Regions from separate parts of the Homo sapiens genome. Here regions 1, 2, 3, 5, 6 and 7 are each linked to region 4. The links are contacts of gene promoters, found by promoter capture Hi-C in blood cells and fetal thymus (Javierre and others, 2016). All regions are on one chromosome and are shown on one strand. Each heading gives the region's core, a stretch centred on a gene start or on the middle of the fragment in contact. The rest is flanking DNA. Distances are from core to core; before and after follow the strand shown. Region 1 has its middle 12 kb from the start of ILKAP. Region 2 has its middle 3.7 kb from the start of LINC02610. Region 3 has its middle 15 kb from the start of TRAF3IP1. Region 4 holds the start of RAMP1 (receptor activity modifying protein 1). Region 5 overlaps ILKAP (ILK associated serine/threonine phosphatase). Region 6 overlaps ILKAP (ILK associated serine/threonine phosphatase). Region 7 overlaps PER2 (period circadian regulator 2).

Evidence for each region. Contacts are between HindIII fragments. The CHiCAGO score rates a contact against its expected background, and 5 or more counts as called.
Region 1: a fragment that was not itself captured here is called in contact with the fragment with the promoter of RAMP1 in region 4 in 1 of 17 cell types (endothelial precursors); the score reaches 5.2 in endothelial precursors.
Region 2: a fragment that was not itself captured here is called in contact with the fragment with the promoter of RAMP1 in region 4 in 8 of 17 cell types (megakaryocytes, M2 macrophages, M1 macrophages and 5 more); the score reaches 10.0 in megakaryocytes.
Region 3: a contact is called between a fragment that was not itself captured here and the fragment with the promoter of RAMP1 in region 4, in 1 of 17 cell types (M0 macrophages). The highest score is 5.5, in M0 macrophages.
Region 5: a fragment that was not itself captured here is called in contact with the fragment with the promoter of RAMP1 in region 4 in 9 of 17 cell types (megakaryocytes, M2 macrophages, M0 macrophages and 6 more); the score reaches 12.0 in megakaryocytes.
Region 6: a fragment that was not itself captured here is called in contact with the fragment with the promoter of RAMP1 in region 4 in 9 of 17 cell types (M2 macrophages, megakaryocytes, M0 macrophages and 6 more); the score reaches 8.9 in M2 macrophages.
Region 7: a fragment that was not itself captured here is called in contact with the fragment with the promoter of RAMP1 in region 4 in 8 of 17 cell types (megakaryocytes, M0 macrophages, endothelial precursors and 5 more); the score reaches 9.6 in megakaryocytes.

The regions. Positions count from the first base shown.
Region 1 is chr2:238,213,879-238,216,578 of GRCh38, reverse strand. No RefSeq gene overlaps it. Among named protein-coding and RNA genes, the nearest start is that of ILKAP, 12 kb to the right of the region's middle. RefSeq lists a silencer at 110-362. The HindIII fragment of the contact is 387 bases long and covers 1,253-1,639 here.
Region 2 is chr2:238,233,920-238,236,823 of GRCh38, reverse strand. It overlaps the pseudogene TARDBPP3. Among named protein-coding and RNA genes, the nearest start is that of LINC02610, 3.7 kb to the right of the region's middle. RefSeq lists silencers at 2,011-2,100, 2,251-2,380 and an enhancer at 2,081-2,582. The HindIII fragment of the contact is 6,291 bases long and covers 1-2,904 here.
Region 3 is chr2:238,304,202-238,306,901 of GRCh38, reverse strand. No RefSeq gene overlaps it. Among named protein-coding and RNA genes, the nearest start is that of TRAF3IP1, 15 kb to the left of the region's middle. The HindIII fragment of the contact is 7,227 bases long and covers 1-2,700 here.
Region 4 is chr2:237,858,196-237,860,918 of GRCh38, reverse strand. RAMP1 (receptor activity modifying protein 1) reads right to left here and starts at 1,296. Exons shown (of 3, transcript NM_005855.4): 1 at 1,192-1,296. The coding sequence starts at 1,243. RefSeq lists enhancers at 1,909-2,695, 2,696-2,723. The HindIII fragment of the contact is 3,458 bases long and covers 1-2,723 here.
Region 5 is chr2:238,172,903-238,175,602 of GRCh38, reverse strand. ILKAP (ILK associated serine/threonine phosphatase) reads left to right here. Exons shown (of 12, transcript NM_030768.3): 10 at 1,950-2,069. Among named protein-coding and RNA genes, the nearest start is that of ERFE, 15 kb to the right of the region's middle. The HindIII fragment of the contact is 8,961 bases long and covers 1-2,700 here.
Region 6 is chr2:238,189,706-238,192,513 of GRCh38, reverse strand. It overlaps ILKAP (ILK associated serine/threonine phosphatase), which reads left to right. Exons shown (of 12, transcript NM_030768.3): 4 at 2,542-2,661. Among named protein-coding and RNA genes, the nearest start is that of ILKAP, 13 kb to the left of the region's middle. The HindIII fragment of the contact is 4,260 bases long and covers 1-2,808 here.
Region 7 is chr2:238,281,769-238,284,653 of GRCh38, reverse strand. The region is part of intron 1 of PER2 (period circadian regulator 2); the gene reads left to right. Among named protein-coding and RNA genes, the nearest start is that of PER2, 5.4 kb to the left of the region's middle. RefSeq lists enhancers at 551-1,050, 1,898-2,398. The HindIII fragment of the contact is 3,450 bases long and covers 1-2,885 here.

The DNA.
Region 1 (2,700 bases), core at 197-2,696, 360 kb before region 4:
CCTTGAAGGGAAGGACCCAGTCTTGGCAGGATTCATCATCTGCTGATGAAAGAGCCCTTGGAATCTGAATAATCAGCAGTGGTAACCAGGTAGTACAGCCATGGGCCTTGAGTGAGACTCTGAGACATGCTGGTTTCAGCTGTGACCAGGACATTCACAGCTGTGGTGGCTATGAGGAGGGCCCCCTACTGCTTGAGAAAAGCAGAGGGAAGAGTAAAGGGGACTTTCTCTTGAACTTAGGTACCAGTTCAGCTACAATGGGGAAGAGCACCAAGCAGGCTCTTGGGGTCCCTGATTCTAGGCCTTGGCTTGAGATGGCATCTCTGGACCTACCCTGGGCCAGAGGGGAGCCCACTTCCTGAAGGATGAGTTCCAGGGCTGGCAGCATTCACCACAAGCTAACTGAAGAGCCCTTGGGCCTTAAATAAACATCAACGGCAGTACCCTCTGTGGGCCTGTGGTGGTGGTGGACATAAGAAGAGACTCCTCTGCCTGGGGAAGAGTGGGAAGGACTTTGTTTGGTGGTTTTGGCACCAGCTCAGCTGCAGTAGTATAGAGCAACAGTAGATTTCTATGGTTTCTGCTTCCAGACCCTGGATCCCAGGACTCACCTGGGGCCTGGGGGAATTTGCAATCTCAAGGTAAGGACACAAGCCTGGCTTGCATTGCCACCTGCTGATCATAGAGCCCTAGGGCCTTGAGTGAACACAGATGGTAGCTAGGTAGCAGTTATAGCAGGCATCGGGCAAGAACCAGTGCTGTGCCGGCTTCAGGTCTGACCCAGTACACTCCCAGTGGTGGTGGCCACAGGGGTGTTTGTGTTACCTTTCCCCAGCTCCAGGCATCTCAACACAGAGTGAGAGACTTTGTTTGTTTGGGAAAAAGTAAGGGAAGGGAACAAGAGTCTCTACCTGGTAATCCAGGGAATTCCTCCAGATCTTAGATCCTCTACGAGTCTGCAAGAACCACAGTGTTACTGGGCTTGGAGTAGTACCTAATGCAGCTACAGCTGCAGTGACCAAAAACATAGATCACAACACCTAAGTCTCATCAAATACCTGGAAAGCCTCCCCAAGAAGGACAGGTACAAACAAACCCAGAATGCGAAGACTACAATAAATACCTAACTATTCAATGCCTAGACACTGATGAACATCCATAAGCATCAAGACCATCCAGGAAAACATGACCTCACTAAACGAACTAAAAAGGCACCATAGACCAATCCCGGAAAGACAGACATATGTAAGCTTTCAGACAGATAATTCAAAATAGCCATTTTTTAGGAAACTCAAAGAAATTCAGGATAACACAGAAAATGAATTCAGAATCCTATCAGATAAATTTAACAGAGAAGTTGAAACAATTAAAAAGAAGCAGAAATTCTGGAGTTGAAAAATACAGTTGACATACTGAAGAAGGTATCAGAGTCTCTTAATAGCAGAACTGATAAAGCAGAAGAAAGAATTCGTGAGCTTGAATACAAGCTATTTGAAAATACAGTCAGAGGAGACAAAAGAAAAAAGAACGAAACAGAATGAAGAATGCCTTAAAGATCTAGAAAATAGCCTCAAAAGGGCAAATGTCAGAGTTATTGTCCTTAAAGAGGAGGTAGAGAGAGAGATAGGAGTAGAAAGCTTATTCAAAGGGATAATAACAGAGAAATTCCCAAAACTAGAGAAAGATATCAATATTCAAGTATAAGAAGGTTATAGAACACTAAGAAGATTTAACCCAAAGTAGACTACCTCAAGGCATTTAATAATCAAACTCCCAAAGATCAAGGATAAAGAAATGATCCTAAAAACAGCAAGATAAAAGAAAACAAACAACATACAATGAATCTCCAACATGTCCGGCAGCAGACTTTTCAGTGGAAACCTTACAGGCCAGGAGAGAGTGGCATGGTATATTTAAAGTACTGAAGAAAAAAACAAAACAAAACAAAAAAACAACCTTTTACCCTAGAATAGTAAATCTGGTGAAAATATCCTTCAAACACGAAGGAGAAATAAAGACTTTCCCAGACAAAGAAAAGCTGAGGTATTTCATCAACATCAGACCAGTCCTACAAGAAATGCTAAAGAGAGTTCATCAATCCCTTTTGTTGAAAGAAAAGAACAGTAATGAGCAATAAAAAATCATCTGAAGGCACAAAACTCACTGGTAATAAAAGGAAGACAGGGCTGGGTGTGTTGGCTCATGCCTGTAATTCCAGCATTTTGGAGGCCAGAGTGGGAGGACTGCCTGAGTCCAAGAGTTCAAGACTAGCCTGGACAACAAAGCAAGAGCCCATCTCTACGGAAAAATAAAAAAATTAGTCAGATGTGATATCACACACCTGTAGTCCCAGCTACTCAGGTGGTTGAGACAGGAGGGTCACTTGAGCCCAAGAGGTCAAGGCTGCAGTGAGCCATGACTGCACCACTGCACTCCAGTCTGGAAAACAGAGCAAGACTGTCTCCAAAAAAGGGTGTGGGGGAGACAGGAAGGAGGGAAAGAAGGAAGAGAAAACCAAAAGCAGCTAGAACACAACAAAATGGCAGGAGTATGTCCTTACTTATCAATAATAACATTGAATGTAAATAGACTAAACACTCCAATCAAAAGACATAGAGTGGCTGAATGGATTAAAAAACAAGACCAAATGGTCTGTTGCCTACATAAAACACTATTCACCTATAAAGACACACATAGACT
Region 2 (2,904 bases), core at 283-2,782, 380 kb before region 4:
CTTTTGGAAATGTAACTGGCTCCCACACCAGTGACCACTGTTGGCCTCCTGGGGCTGAGAGCTGCTCTTGCCTGCGGTGCAGCCTGGGGCCACCAGCTTCCCAGCCAGCTGGTTGTTTCACACCAGCTCCTCTCCCAGCACCCCCAGGCTCCCCACAAGCCCTTCTCTGAGGGCTGTCTCCTTCCCACCCGGATCCCTTCTCTAAGGGCTGTCTCCTTCCCACCCGGATCCCTTCTCTGAGGGCTGTCTCCTTCCCACCCGGATCCCTGACCCACTGTATTACTTTTCTATGGCTGCCAAAACCAACGACCACACTCTTGGTGGCTTCAAACACACGATTATTGTCTTGCAGTTCCACGGGTTAGAAGTCTGTCAGGATTCACTGGGCTAAGATCAAGGTGTTGGCAGGCAGGGCTGTGTGCCTTCTCCTGCCTCTTCATTCAGGGGCCACCCACATTCCTTGGAGGATGGTCCCTTCCTCCATCCTCAGAGTTCCTCGGAAGCATTGCGTCTCTCTGACCCTTCTTCCTTGGTCACGTCTCCTCCTTACTTCTACTTTTAAAGATCCTTGTGATGACACCAGCCCCCTGGAGAATCCAGGATAATCTCCCTGTATGAAGGTCTTTAGCTTAATTCTTAATCACATTTGCAAACTCCCTTTTGCCATGTAAAGTAGCATATTCGCAGGTTCTGGGAACTAGGATGTGGTCATGAAGGACATTCTCTGTGACACCTGCCTGCACCCTGGCCCAGGCGTTCTGCCTTCCATCATGAAGCAGTGTGGCGCCCGCTTCCGACATGGGCATGGGCCCCCATCCCTGCTCACCTGCTCAGGGACTCTGCTCTCCACTGCACCATTAGCTTCTCCTCCCTTCTGGATCATTCTCATTAACCTACAAACGGGCTGTAATATGAATACCTTTACTCGGAAGAACCTCCCTGGATGTGACATACTGTTAGCCTCTGTCTCAATGCTCTAAAGCAAAATTCCTTGAAAGCGTCATCTACACTTACTGCCTCCACTTCCACGCATCCCATTCCTCTTCATTCCTTTCCAATCAAGCTATTGTCCACCCTTCCACTGGAACTGCACAGTCAAAATCTCTAGTAACGAGCATGTTTCCCAACCCAGTGGGCATGTCCGCATGTCAGCTTCACTTCTCGTGGGTTATGACTCATCCATCTGGAGGCTCCTTCTCCAGTCTCAAGGGCACCACACCAGCCTTCTTTCTACCTCATCGGCCATCCTCAGTCCCCTGTACTCAATGCTCCTCCCTGCCGACCTCCAACTGGACGTGTTCTTCCCAAGGCTCTGTCCTCAGCCTTCCCTGCCGCCCTCCAACTGGACGTGTTCTTCCCAAGGCTCTGTCCTCAGCCTTCCCTGCCGCCCCCACACCCAGTGACACCATCTGGCCCGTTTTGCCAATCCCATGCCCTTGATTCAAAGCCCCTCTCCAGGCGGCTGGCTCCTCTGTATCCTCCTGTCCACTCAGTGACTGCACTTAGATGTCAGATGGGCTCACACCACCACCAAAACAACAGATCCTCAGGCATTACCACTTCTTGGTACCCCATGGATTGAGCAAAAAAATCTAGATGTCACCCTCAAGTTCACCCTCTTCCTGCCATCCCACGTCCTATCAGTCAAGCCCATGAGCACTACTTCTTCTTCTTTTTTATTTTTATTTATTAATTTATTATTATTATTATTATTTTGAGACGGAGTCTCACTCTGTCGCCCAGGCTGGAGTGCAGTGGGGGAGATCTAGGCTCACTGCAACCTCCGCCTCCTGGGTTCAAGCAATTCTCCTGCCTCAGCCTCCCAAGTAGCTGGGACTACAGGCGCCAGCCACCACGCTCGGCTAATTTTTTCTATTTTTAGTAGAGACGGGGTTTCACCGTGTTAGCCAGGATGGTCTCGATCGCCTGACCTCGTGATCTGCCCGCCTAGGCCTCCCAAAGTGCTGGGATTACAGGCGTGAGCCACCAAGCCCGGCGGAGCTCTACTTCTAAGCCCTGCCTCCACGTGTCGTCTTCTTTGCCACCGACCGAGTCCAAGGCAGCCTCGTTTCTAACCTGGGCCTCCGCAGCAGGCCTCTGACTCCCCTCCCACTCCAGTCCTGACCGTGACCTTCAAGACTCTACCCGGTTCAGCACCGCCGCCCCCCGGGGCTCCTCCCTTCCAGCCCTCCCTACGCTCTGCTCAGGCCTCTGCAAGTGACCCGAGAGCCAGGACCCGGACGGTCTCGATCAGCCAGTCGCCCAGCCCTTGAGCCCTTCCGGGACTGCCCGGAGCCGGCGCTGGGGAATACCGAGTCCCTTGGAGCCGGGTTCGGGGGGCGCCGTGAGCTGGGAGGCGCTCGGAGGAGCCGAGGCCTTGACCACGCCCCCTCCAGCCCCGCCCCGCCAGAGGCGAGCCGCGGGGCCTCCTGGGAGATGTAGTTCCGACCCCTTTACTTAGATTTTTGGTTTTTTTTTTTTAAATCAGTTTTATTTAAGAATTTCCAACAATGACAACTCTTATAAAAAGCATCCAAGCACAGGACACAGAACTGCAGCAAACAGCATTCTTATGGGTAGCTAACAGACATTAGAACTTCTACCCTTCTTTGAGACACCAGAGTTCACTGCTGAACTCTGCTTCCAAGTCCTCCTGCAAAGCACACCACAAGCTCAGTCCATGTTCTCAGCCCATCAGCTTCAGTTCACATTGCCACACTTACATATCAGTAACAGAAGAGAACACACACCATACAGCATTCACAGCAGTTGACAAAGGGGTAGGGGGAGTACAAGTATCATTTCACTTAACACATTCAAATAAAGTGGGTTATCTAAGAACAAAAACTCAAAGTCTTCCAACAGATGTGGATGTCCTTTGAATGCAAAAAACATTCGTACATT
Region 3 (2,700 bases), core at 133-2,632, 450 kb before region 4:
CAAAGGAAGACAGATGCTGGTATGCCTCTGCACCCTAGCAGAGCGGAAGACACCAAGCGGTGATCACACCACTAGAGCTGCCTGCCTTGAGCCGGGCTCTGCCAGGGCCTCCAGGGCATAGGTCAGGCATGCTCGACAGAAATCTATGATAAGATGAAAGGGCACATCCAGCACTGGGCTTATGCAGGGCCAGAGCCACAGATAAACTGCACAAGACCCTCCTATCATCTGCCTCTGTTGCACCACTGGAGGTCCCTCACCTTCATCACTGCTGTGTTGGGTGGCGGTGTCACTTATGACCACCTAGTGGAGGAAGAAATAGGCCGAGCTTGGTTCATGCATGGGTTGGCTCAGTGTGGGATGCAAAAAATGCCTAAAAATAGATAGCTGCTGCACTGCAGCCTCACTCCGGGGCCTCCCTGAAAGGCAGTGCTGACAGACTGCCTCTCCCAATCTCCCCATGGACAGAAACTTGGTGTATTAGTTCATTGTTGCTGCTGTAACCAATTTCCAAAAACTTGGGAGTTTAAAACAACACAAATGGAATCTCTTACAATTCTGGAGGTCAGAGCTGAAACTGGGTGTTACTGGGCTGAAGTCAAGGTGTGGTCAGGGCTGTAATCCTTCTGGAGGCTCTAGGGGAGAATCCATTTCTTCTCCTTTTTCAGCTTCTAGAAGCTACCTGCATTCTCTGGCTCATGCACCCTTTCCAGAAACGACATCATTTTAACGTCTGTTTCTATGGCCACGCCTTCTTCTCGGACTTTGGCCCTCCTGGCTCCCTCTTCCACTTTTTTTTTTTTTTTTTTTTTTGAGATGGAATTTCGCTCTGTTGCCCAGGCTGGAGTGCGATTGTGCGATCTTGGCTCACTGCAACCTCCACCTCCTGGGTTCAAGTGATTCTCTTGCCTCAGCCTCCCGAGCAGCTGGGATTACAGGTGCCCGCCACCAGGCCCAGCTAATTTTTTTTGTATTTTTAGTAGAGAGAGGGTTTCACCATGTTGGTCAGGCTGGTCTCGAACTCCTGACCTCAGGTGATCCACCCGCCTCAGCCTCTGAAAGTGCTAGGGTTACAGGCGTGAGCCACCACACCCGGCCTCCCTCTTTCACTTATAAGGACATTTATGATTACATTGGGCCACCCAGATAATCCAGGATAATGTTCCCATCTCAAGATCCTCAATGTAATGACATCTGCAAAGTCCCTTTTACCCTGTACCAAAACAGATGTACAGGTTCCAGACATGGGCGTGTGTGGGGGCCCACCGTTCTGCCCACCATGCTTAGGCAGTACACGTAGCTCTCCATTTTGTGTAGAAAGAGAAGTGGCTTGGCATAAGAATATGTTCAGACCCATGGACAGCGGCAAAAGACGGCTGTTGCTGCTCTGGGCCTGGAAAATTCAAAGGTTGGGGACCAGGAGTTTAGTGGAAGGGTCATGCATGCAGCTAGGACCATGGGAGTGGACAGGCATGTGAAGGTCTCTGTATCCCTGCTAACAGCCACCAGAGAGCACCACCATGGAAAAGGCACCCAGCAGCCATGTAGGAAGATGCTTTGGCCGTTCGGAGTCAGCCTGCCTCTGTCATAGGCCATTCAGTGAGTAGCAGTGGTGGCAGGGTTGCAGGATGGTGTGGGCCTGACAGTATGGCCTCCAACTCGCCAAGGCTGAGTTAGTTCCAGCAACTGCTAAACATCCAGCTTAACAGCAAGACACCAAAGCTGAGCTCCCAGCAGAGTGCCACCGGGAGGAACTCAACTGGCCACTAGGTGGAAGGTTGATTACATTGGACTTAAACTCAATTATATTGCCCTAAAGGTGAGGCAGTGATTCATTTTGACTGACCCAAAGTGTGGATTTGGATATCCCAAGTGTGGATTTGTCTTTCCTGCCCTTACGAACACTATCTGGAGGTTTATAAAATGTTTGATCGATGGATATAGAATACCACATAACATTGCTTTGGACCAAAAAGACTCACTTTACAGCAAAGGATCTATGGTGTTGGGTACATGACCGTGGGCTCCACTGGGCCCATTCCTTACCATGCCGTTCAGATGCTGCCAATCTGGGTGAGTGATGGAGTGGTCCTCTTGTTAGCTCTGCTGAGGAGAAAATACCCTTTGAGGATGGGATTCCATCCTTTAAGACACAAAATATACCCTAAATCAGTGACCATCATAAATTGCTGTCTCCAGCTGATGAAAGGCATGGGTCTGGGAACCCAGGAGCAGAAGCAGGAACAGCCCCCAACCATGACCTCCAGGGATCCAGTTGGTGAATTTGAACTTCTCGTCCCCTCCATGTTGTGCTTTGCAGGTCTAGAGGCCTGTTCTCTAGAGGGGGAACACTGCCACCAGGGGATCCAGTGGACAATAAGCGATGGCTGTCACTGGTCACTCAGGCTCTGTGCCAAAAGACGAGCAAGCAAGGAAAGGAGTCGGTGTCCCAGCAGGGGTGACTGGCTCTGATCCTCAAGAGCAGGAAGGGCTGCTGGAACCGGGGTGGAGGAGAATCACCCTGGCACACAGCTGGCTTCTGGGGCATCACTTGGCACGCTCCTGCCCAGTTTTGGTGGGAAATGGACAAGCACAGCAGTTGCAGCCTGAAGAGCGTGTAGTGGCTGGGATGAGGGTTTGTGTCCTCCTGCCAGGTGGGTGCCCAAGCGCAGCAGAGGTGCTAGCAGAGGAAGTGGGGAA
Region 4 (2,723 bases), core at 47-2,546:
ATATCGGCCTCTGAGGATTCTATGCAGATCTGCCACCCCTTGGAGAGGTTTACAAATAGGGAACAGAAATCCATGGCTCCCAAGAAGCCCTGGCCCCTCTCCTCGCTGGGCCACGAACCACTCCCCCAGCTACAACAGCGCCGGTGGTCCCTGCTTGCCCAGTGCCAGCGCCAAAGAGGTCTTGTGCGGCAGGTGCCTCTGACCAACATCACTGTTTCCGGGGAAAGGCCACACATACCAGAAACAACTGCTCCGGCCTTCCCAGGGACACTGGGTTCTCCCACGCCAGTAACCTATTCACAGTTTCCGTTAAAAGGTAGCTAAATACACGGAATAATGCAATAGCCAAAGCGGTTTAGAAGGGGCTTGAGTTAGCATTTTAGGAACACATTACAGACAAGGGAAGTGAACAGCACCGTTTCTTGCCGAGTGTGTGGCCAGTTCCTGTGGCCATGAGGCTGCCGCTAATCTCCACTTCTCCCTCCAAGTGGAAAGCCAAACGTGTTCCACCACTTCACCAAGGGACCCGTCCTTCTTTAAATTTCTATTAGCCAAAAGTGCCAAGTTAACAAGCAAACCAAAAGAAAAAAGAAAAAAAGCGATGGAAGTGTCCCGAAAAGGGCTGGCCTCATTTCTGCAAAAGACGTGATTTGCAAACAAGCAACTGCTGCAGGCGACAGATTGTCAGTGTTGACTAATTTCCATACAAACCGGCTGTGGTTCTGATTCCCGAACACTGCGTCTTCTGCAAGGTGCCCGTCTGCAGGTTTTGCAACGCGGGACGGCCTAGGGAAGGGAGCCTGCGCTGGCAGTCACCGCGGCGCACAGCCTGAGAAACGAGGTGCGGGGCTGGGGAACCCCGCGTCCTGTTTTTCCTTCTGAAAACTAGTTCTCCAGTGTGCAGGGCTGACTCACCCCACGCTTTCCAGAATGCCCGCTCTCCGACGTCCCCAAAGCCGTCCCTTCCCCGGCGAGAAGCGCAACACCGGTCCGCGCCCTCCGCCTCCCCTGTGCCCTGGGGCCTCCCGCCTGGAACCGGGGCGGCCCGCGTTCAAGGGCAGCGGATCTGTGCGCCCGCGGCGCCCGCCCCCACCCGCTCCCACCCGCTCCCACCCGCTCCCCTCCTCTCCCCTAGAGGACACCGGCTGGCCAGGGGAAGGGAGCTCGGCCGGGACCCCTGGACCTACTCACCCAGGAGCAGCCAGAGGCCGCGCCGCGGGAGGCGGCACAGGGCCCGGGCCATGGTGCACAGCGGTGCCGAGTCGAGTCCGCTCGCCACGCGCCCCGCTGAGGACTGAGCCCGCCGCGGCGCGGGCCCGGAGGAGACGCGCCGGGGGCGGGAGCGGGCGCGGGAGCGGTGGGAGGCGGCGGCCGCGCGGCCCGGCCCACTGCGGCTCCCCGCGTGGGTGCCAGGGCCGGGGGCGCCCAGGGCCGGTAAAACTTTGCAGGGGGGCCGCGCGGGCGTCTCCAGGCCCCTCCCGGGGGGCGGCACACTTGGGGTCCCAGGAAGGCCTCCTGAAATGTTCTCCGAGCAAATAAACACTTTTTAAACTAGGGAGGGTCTCCTAGACGACTCAGCGTGAGGGGCACCTTGGTCTCCACCTGGGGATCTTCCCCTCCTCCTCCTCCGAGGTTCTGGGCGTTCCTGCCTGGTGTTTGCCTTGCAAAAGGCTAAGATCTCCCAGCCTTATCTACCTCTCCGCCCAGGTGCAGGCGCTGGGGAGCGTGGGGGGCAAAACTCGCCACCGCGCCTGGCGAGACCCGTAGTAACCCAAAATGGCGCACACTTACCAGGCCCTGGAATGCTGCTCCAGATCTGCAGGATGAGTGGGTGGGCAGAGGCGGGGACAGCACGGCAGGTGAACAGAAGCCGTGGGGCTGGAGGAACAGGGCTCTTTGGGGGGATTGAGATGGCCTGGGAGTCTTGCTGTTGATGGGTAGGTAGCGAGAGCCTGGCAGGAGGTTGTGAGGGCCTGGCCACAGAGTCTTGAGATGAGGTTTGCTTTGGTGGCACTCTGGCAGCTGCATGGAAAACTGATGGGGGATCTTGGGTACATTCGTTTATGTAAAGTGGTGAGAGGAGGGCGCTCTGGAGATGGGCCGGGGAAGCCTGCGGAGGAGCAGGTTTTGGGAGGCACAGGCCTGGCCTCTCGGCATTACTGGTGGCTGGATTTCACTTGCAGTGGTTCCTTCTTGTATTATCCTGTTCCGAGAACTCTTAGCAACAGTAAATTTATACTTGTGCTAAGGAATGCACCACTGCCCTTGGAGGGGGAAGAATCACCACCCTGGTGCTGCGGCCACAGCTGTCTCTTTTGTGGTGGAAGCTGCAAGCGCACAGCATTGCTGAGTGACCATCGTTTTCTCCTAGGAAAGGGAACAGTCTGTGGCTGAGAGGCTGCTGCCACCTGCAGTAAGCTCAGAGAAGGGGAGACAGCTGACAGCGAGGTCATCCACTGGTTCTTCTAACACAGGCTGGGAGGGCACTCAGGGCCAGCATGCCTACCACCTGTGCAGGGGCCCCAAGTGTTCTGAGAGTGAGGGGTGAGATGGTGGGGGAGGGCACACATTCTCTTGACTTGATTAGCCCTTGTTCTTGAACCCTAGGAGATACACCCCATTGGGTGGCCTGGCATCCCTACTTTCTTCATTTAACAGACATTTGTGTCCCTATGTGCAAGACACTGTTAGATCGACAAGCCCTGCCCTTCAATTGGTGAATC
Region 5 (2,700 bases), core at 190-2,689, 310 kb before region 4:
GATTGGCCTTTGTTGAACTGACAGGTATTTGAATGTGCACATCCTACGTAGGACATCGCATTGAGTGTAGGCATAGTGCCAGGGCAGCTTGCCTCATCGTTACCAAACGCGTTTCCTGGGATCTGTCATTCTGTCCATTGTGCTTTCTCCTGTTACTCTAGCAGTTCAGTGAATGTAAGATTACTACTCTGTATATGGAACTTTGAAAACAAGAATGAGGCCACATTACGCCTGTAATCTCAGCACTTTGGGAGGCTGAGGTGGGAGGACTGCTTGAGGCTAATTGTTTAAGGACCAGCCTGGGCAACACCCCATCTGTACAAAAAAAATTTTTTTTTTATTTACCTGGACTTGGTGACACCTGTAGTTCTAGCTACTCAGGAGGCTGAGGTGGGAGGATCACTTGAGCCCAGCGAGTGATTGCACCACTGCCCTCCAGCCTGGGCAACAGAGGGAGACCCTGTCTCTTAAAAAAAAAAAGAGAGAATGAGAGATGGCAGTTCCTGTGCTGCTCATATTGTCCTTCTTTAGACTTAGAGATTGTTTCACATTGTCTGTACTGTGTTGTGCAGTACCAGAAGTTGCTGGTAGCTACTTGGTCTTCTGGGACCTGCCATTGCAGACGTGGTGATTGTAATCTTAATCTTGTTGAAACAGGATGGATTTATGACTGGGATGGCCGGAAGCCACACCAGACACCCAGTCACCTGGTCATGGGAGAGGTACTTTGTTGGCTTTTCATAGTACTTACACTGTGAGCTGCTTCCTGAAGTGGCACTCTTAAGGCCAGGTGCCCCCACCCATCTTCAGTCCTCAGCTCTTCCCCTGTGCACTGTTTCCTCTTGCTATTTAACAGTTTGTATCCTAGAAGATCGCTAGGCTTTTTGCAGATACCAGCAGAAGTCTTTGAAGAAGAAAAAACATGTTTGTTACGGATACTGACCTGTGAGCCACTGAGAGGGTAACTGGGGCCCAGAGAAGGGCCAGGCTGAATTCTGCCTTTAGGACAGCAGCCCAGGAAGCATTTCCTACCATGTGCAGCCATCTGCACCGCATCTCCTGAACTTGCTTGGTCCATGATTTGGGAGCCCCGTGGTGATCTTAAACGCCCATGCGCAGCCGTGGCATTTGCGGAGTGCTCTCTCACACGTTGAGTATGGTTCTCTGCCTTGCCTTTACAAACAAGGGCCTGAAGGGGAGAGAGCTTGCAGCTGCCTAAGGTGACAGTGCTGCAGCCTAGACCAGAATTGTTCTTTGGGGCAGTAGGCTTCCCCAAATGGTTTTTCCTTGGCAATAGGACTGTCCCTTAGATGTCTCTTCCCATTTGTAGATCACTGCCCCATCTCCTCCATATCCCCTCACCTAAAATAGAATGGGTGAAACTATGATGCTATGCAGGATACTGTCATTTACATTAACATTAAACCGTACCTGTACTTGATGCAAAGGACATGTGCTCCACAATCCAGGAATAGCCACTTTCAGGGATTTTCCAAATCTAATTAGATTGAAATGCAAAATATCCCTCTGTTCTAGCTATTGTTAACCCTGGCTGCATGTGGGAAACACTCAAGGAGCTTTAAGATACAAAACACTGCCAGGCTCCCTTACCCAGTCAGTCAAATCCGATTCTGGAGTTGGGACCTAGGTGTGTGATGAGAACTGCTGAGTCCTGTCGAAGGTTAAGCTGGGCAGCACTGCTTGGCAGCCACTGGAGGTGCTGTTCCCACCCATGTGCAGCTGGGCAGGGTCCCTACCCCAGGGCAGCAGTTAATGGCCTAGACACCCCTGCATATTTGAGATCAAGAAATGTCAGTAGTGGTTAATAATGTGAATTCCACAGTCTGTATCTTTCACACTTCCATTCTCTGCTTTTAAGGTGAGATTCTAAGTACTGTGGACCCATAATCTGTCAGGTAGAGTCTGAAATGTTTTTCCTCTCATTTTAGGGATGGGCGTGTTTTGGGCGTGCTAGAGGTGTCACGCTCCATTGGGGACGGGCAGTACAAGCGCTGCGGTGTCACCTCTGTGCCCGACATCAGACGCTGCCAGCTGACCCCCAATGACAGGTAAAAGGCCCTATAAGAGGCACAGGTGTGTGTGCATGTGGGTTTATTTCTCTTCCTCACTTCCAGTTTCTATCAAGCCTTTGTTGGAGGGAAGGTGTGCATGGTGCTAGGCCCTGGGGGTGCAGAGATAAACAAAATGTGGTTTCTGCTCTGGTGGGGTCCACAGTGGTAGGGGGGGACACATGGGGATGGGCAGCTGCAGTCCAGTGTGTCCTAGGCATGTGCTGTGTGCTGGGGTCTTTGGCAGTAGGGGAAGGGGTTATCCCTGTCAGAGAGAGGAGAAGGGGCTTCCTGGCAGAGGGAACACACAGTAAGGCATTAAAATGTGACAGTGTGAAAGCATGGCCAGACAGGCGCTTGAGGGACGGAGGGAGTGGTGGGAAAGTGATAGCAGGGTACTTTGGGGGCAGATCCTGAAGGGCCGGCCCTCAGCCCCATGCTGGAGAGTTTGAACTTTAGTTGATCATTGGTGGAGAATCATAGGTTTTTACACAGAGCCAGGATCGGTTGAGAAAGAGACAGTTCACCTGTTCATCTCCTGTTCTCCATGCCTAAGGGTACGGCACCGTGCTGGCTGAGGGCAGGGCCTCAACAGGTGATGGTTAAAGATGGCATTATGGGGCTAGGGAGG
Region 6 (2,808 bases), core at 309-2,808, 330 kb before region 4:
GTTAGCCAGGATGGTTTCCATCTCCTGACTTCGTGATCCGCCTGCCTCGGCCTCCCAAAGTGCTGGGATGACAGGTGTGAGCGACCTTGCCCGGCCCGATAACACATTCTTAAGCGGGCAGGAACCATTTACAAAAGTTGATTATGTACTAAGCCATAAAATAAGCCTCAATGATCTGTTTCTTGTACAGACTACATTCTCAGACTACAGTGTAATTTGCTTAGAAGTCAATAACAAACCTGTAAGGTGTCTTTATTTTGAAATTTTATTATTTTTCTTTTTTTCTTTTTCTTTTTCTTTTTTTTTTTTTAAGACAGTCTCACTCTGTTGGCAGGCTGGAGTGCAGTGTTGCGATCTCAGCTCACTGCAACCTCTACTTCCCGGGTTCAAGTTCCTGTCTAAGCCTCCCGAGTAGCTGGGACTATAGGCACCTGCCACCACACCCAGCTAATTTTTTGTATTTTCAGTAGAGACGGGGTTTCACCATGTTGGCCAGGATGGTCTCAATCTCTTGACCTCATGATCCGCCTGCCTCTGCCTCCCAAAGTGCTGGGATTACAGGCATGAGCCGCTGCGCCTGGCCTTTTTCTTTTTCTTTTTTTTTTTTTTGAGATGGAGCCTTGCTCTGTTGCCTAGGCTGGAGCGCAGTGGCGAGATCTCAGCTCACTGCAGCCTCCGCCTCCTGGGTTCCAGTGAGTCTCGTGCCTCAGCCTCCCGAGTAGCTGGGATTACAGGCGCTACCATGCCCGGCTAATTTTTTGTATTTTAATTAGAGACCGGGTTTCGCCATGTTGGTCAGGCTTGTCTTGACCTTCTGACCTTAGATGATCTGCCCATCTCAGCCTCCCAAAGTGCTGGGATGACAGGTGTGAACCACCACACCTGGCCATCTGTTTTGGAATTTTAAAGGAAGAAAGTTTCACATCCATATGGGGAAAACTGGAACCCATACAGTAAGCCACAGGACACTAATGGGGACCTTTGGGAGAGATACTGTTGGAAACATCTGTGTTGCCTTATGCAGGGTGCATATGTGTATTATGTTATACTGTTGCAGAAATAGGGCCTTGTGCAACTAATTTACGCTTCTTGAGGGCAGGAACATTTTCATTACTTTTTCCTCAGCACTAAGAAATGTCTGACACAGGCGGTTCAAGACCAACCTACCCAACATGGTGAAACTCCGTCTCTACTAAAAATACAAAAATACAAAAATTAGCTGGGTGTGATGGTGCACTCCTGTAGGCTGAGACAGGAGAATTGCTTGAACCCTGGAGGTGGAGGTTGTAGTGAGCTGACGTTGCGTCACTGCACTCGAGCCTGGGCGACAGAGTAGACTCCGTCTCAAAAAAAAAAAAAAGACACCTTGTGTTTACCAAAAAAATTAAAAAATTAGCCGGGTGTAGTGGTTCCTGCTTTCAGTCCCAGCTGCTCAGGAGGCTGAGATGGAAGGATCACTTGAACACAGGAGTTGGAGGCTGCAGTAAACTGTGATCATGCCACTGCATTCTAGTCTGTGTGACAGAATGAGACCCTGTGTCAAAAACAAAAAGAAGAAGAAATGTCTGGCAAAGAGTAGGTTGAGTAAGTAAATAAGTACTTGCATCCTTTTTTTTTTTTTTTTTTTTTTTTTTTTAAAGAGAAACGTCTTACTACTTTGCCCAGGCAGGTCTCAAATGCCTGGGCTGAAGTGATCCTTCTGCCTCAGTCTCCAGAAGTAGCTGTGACTGCAGGCATGTGCCACTGCATCTGGCTGTTGCATACTTTTATACCTAAATGCAGAGAACATTTCAAGTCATTTATTAGGACAGCAGCTGCCCTTATTGGAGATTGATGTGTTAGGCACTGTGACAAATGCTCTTCCTACTTGTCCTGACCCATTTTCAAACATCCCTCTGAGATGACAGTATTCTTACCATGTTACGCACGGGTGAAGACAGCTGAGACTGAAAGATTAAGTTGCACACCTCTTTGAAACTTGACTTTTCTCATTTCAAACACATACACTGCAGATTCCCTTAGCTTTGAGTACAGATTCATCCTTTTGCTAGTGGGAACAGCTGTGGCAGCCTTATTTTGCCTTTGAAAGGATGTATTACAGTTCTTAAAGGCTGCCATTTACCTCATTTTGAGCCTTTTCGAGTACTTGTTACTTTTTGGAACGTGATTAGGATATGTTAGTTTGCTTACAGATTTTGTAAGTGTTTGTTTAACACTAAGAGCCTGTGGATATAAAAACATGTATATGCTACAGGCCAAAAAAAACCATGTATTTTTACCACTGGGAAAAGTCTTTTACAAACCCCTTCAGCAGGGTCAGTTTGACTCAGGGCCTGGATCTTAACTTTATGTTCTCTCACTGTGGGACCCCCCTCCCCCTCCCCGCCAACCATGAAGACACAACTCCTGGGTCTGCCTGTGTCTGCCAGTCCTTGCTTCAAATGACCTTGTCTTTGAGTGCTAGGATGAAGCCCAGTCTACTAGTGACTTTTTCCAACAGTCTACAGCTGTGTTTCTGTCTGGCTTTTACTTTATTTCCAGGTTCTCTTGCCACATCAATATCCCAGATGGTAAAGACTGAAGGGAAAGGAGCAAAGAGAAAAACCTCCGAGGAAGAGAAGAATGGCAGTGAAGAGCTTGTGGAAAAGAAAGTTTGTAAAGGTTTTCAGACAATTTGAAAACAAATGTATTAGACTTCATATTTTAAAACAACCCAGAGCAAAACCAGTTTCAGCTTTCTAATAATACTTTCTTTTTATGTCTGTATTTAAGAAATAAGTAGGGTTCCCTTTTTGCAAATGAATTTCC
Region 7 (2,885 bases), core at 347-2,846, 420 kb before region 4:
ACCCGGGGCCCAGACAGCATGGTGGCTTCAGATACCTGATGCTCCTCTAAGGACTGCCTGGGCTGGAGGTGGCACTGAGTTCTTAGTCCTTTAAATATAAGAATACAAGCCAGAGACAGCTGCCATGACAATTCATTCTCTCTCTTCCAAAATTACGTTTGTTGCCCATCTGTTTTTCTTTTTCGTTTTCTCTCTCTTTTTTTTTTTTTTTTGAGATAGAGTCTTGCTCTGTTGCCCAGGTTGGAGTGCAGTGGTGCAATCTTGGCTTACTGCAGCCTCCACCTCCTGGGTTCAAGCAATTCTCCTGTCTCAGCCTCCCAGGTAGCTGGGACTACAGGCACACACCATGACGCCTGGCTAATTTTTGTATTTTTAGTAGAGACGGGTTTCACCATATTGGTCTGGCTGGTTGCGAACTCCTGACCTCGGGTGATCCACCGCCTCAGCCTCCCAAAATGCTGGGATTACAGGTGTGAGCCACCGCGCCCAGCCGCCGTCTGTTTTTCTGTAGTGATTAGCAGTGATAAGCTAATATTACATTCCAGATATCTTGCATGGGTTGTGTCATTTAATCCTTCTAACAACCAGTAGGAGGCAGGAACTACTGTTACCCCATCTCACAAATGAGGACACAAGGCTCAGGGAGGTTAAGGAACTTGTCCGAGATCACATAGGAGGTGGTGGAACCCAGCTGAAACCCAGGCCACCCAGGACCTGTGCCCTTAACCACTCTGCTGCTGCCTCTGATCACCTTAATGACTCACTCAGAGCAGAAAGGACCAGCTGCTTATCTGGGGGAGGGCTGTGGGGATGAGATGGGTGGTGTCCAGGGTGTTGAGGGGTCAGGAGTGAGAGAATGCCCTTGGTACCCTGGGCGGCCCCTTGGCAGCTCCACTGAACCATGGCAAGAGCACCCTGAGAGGTCTCCTTGCTTCCACCTTGCCTCAACCCTGCAACTCCATTGAAGTGTAAGTGAGATCTTGTTGCACAGAACTCTCCACAGTTCCCTATCGGAGTTCTGACTGCCCCCGCAAGGCACTCCGTGATCTGGCCTTGCTGCCGCCCTCCTACCGCTGCCCGCTCTGCTCCAGCCTCGTGCACCTTCCTCAGACAGGTCAGGTGCTTGCCTGCCGCAGGGCCTTTGTGTGTGCTGTCCCCCTGCCTAGAATGTTCTTCCTCTGGTAGCTCACTCTCCACTCTCTTCAGGTCTGCCTTCAGGCTCTCTTGAGAATGGAGTCTGAGGTGAGCACTTTACTGGGAATTGCAGTCCCAGGGTAGCAGTAGAAAAGGAAAAGGGAGGTAAGGAAGAAAAGTCTGGAAAGCACACACAAGACGACACCCTGCTGAGATGAGGCTCTGCCTTACAGAGACATCCAGCTGGGTGCTCACCCCCTTGGGACCTCTTCAGAAAGGCTGTGCCAAAACAGGAAGGAAGGAAAGAAAGACAACTTCAGAAAGGTCCATTTGAGGGAGAGAGGGAGGGGGCATTTTCTGCCAGCTCCTCCTTGCCTCCTGTCCAGCAAGCGAGCTCTCCCTCCTATCCAGCTGCCTCATCAGACCCTTTGGCAGCAGGCAGGACAGTGAGGAGCAGCAAGGGCCCCCACAGTGGTGTGGCACGTCATCCGAGTCCACACAGGGCAGGCAGAGCCAGAGATGCCCAGTGCCAGCCTCAGGTGTGAAGCCAGAAAGACCTGCTGAAGCACGTGGCTGCAAGCCTGAGAGAGCGAAGCCCAGGGACCCTGAGTCAGTTCACACACGAGGGCTCGTGCGCAAGGTCCTTGTCAAATGCCACCTACACCTGGGGCCACCCTCATTGAAATGTCACTCCCAGCCCCTCAATTCCCACTTGCTAGTTGCCTACTCTACTGTATATTCTAGTTTCTTGTTTATTGTCTGTTTCCCCCTAATGTAAGCTCCCTGAGGGCAGGAAAGATGTCTGCTCTGTTGTCTGCCCCAGTGCCAGCCCTCAGTGCTAAGCGAATAAGGGCAAGTCAGTCAGTGGGAAACTGCTGGCACCGGGCAGGCCCTGCCTGAGTGCCATCTGTCCTTTTTATTGTTGTTGTTATTTATTGTTCTTGGACTTGTTCATCTATGTCTGAGACTCTCCCCACATCAGTCTTTCTGGCCTCTATCCTTTTAGTGGGTGTATAGTATTCATAGTATGGATGTCCCAGGTTTGTGTCTTCAACAGTACGTGCCAGGCCCTGGGGATCCAGCATTGACCAACGCAAACCCCTGCCCCCATGGAGCTTAGGTCCCAGAGGGGAGGCAGGCAGTAAACAGCCCAGCCCCTCAGTGCTGGCGAGGAAAGCCCACAGAGCGGCGGTGGAGGCACAGAGAAGGAGCTGGTGGGGAGACGGTGCTGTTCATGCAGGCTGCCCAGGCATCTGCAAGAAGAGGGCTGTGGGCACGAGGGAGCAGCAAGTGCAGAGTCTCTGTGGTCAGAGCACACAGGGCTGGGGCTGAGGGGTGGGCAGTTAACAGGACATGCCCAGGAGATTGCAGGAGCTAGACTTGCAGAGCCTTTGGCCCTTGTGCACACTAGAATTGTGCTCTGAGCAAGGGTCTGAGCACGGGCCGGGCGTAAGCTAAGCCCCTTCACCAGGATCGCTCTAGATGCTGTGTTAACCATAGCAGGGCCAGGTGGAGGCAGGGGACCAGTCTGGAATTGGAGGCTGGCTCCTGGCCAGGATGATCGTGGACAGGATGCGTAGCCTCCCTGTTGATGGTTCTTCCCAGGTTTTTATATTCAGTGCTCACACATCTCTGAGCACATAAATAAGCACTTCTCTGCAATGGATTCCTGGAGGTGGGAAGAGTATGCAGATTATAAATGTTGCTGGGAACTCAAATTTCTCTCCAGAAATACCCTATTACTACACCAC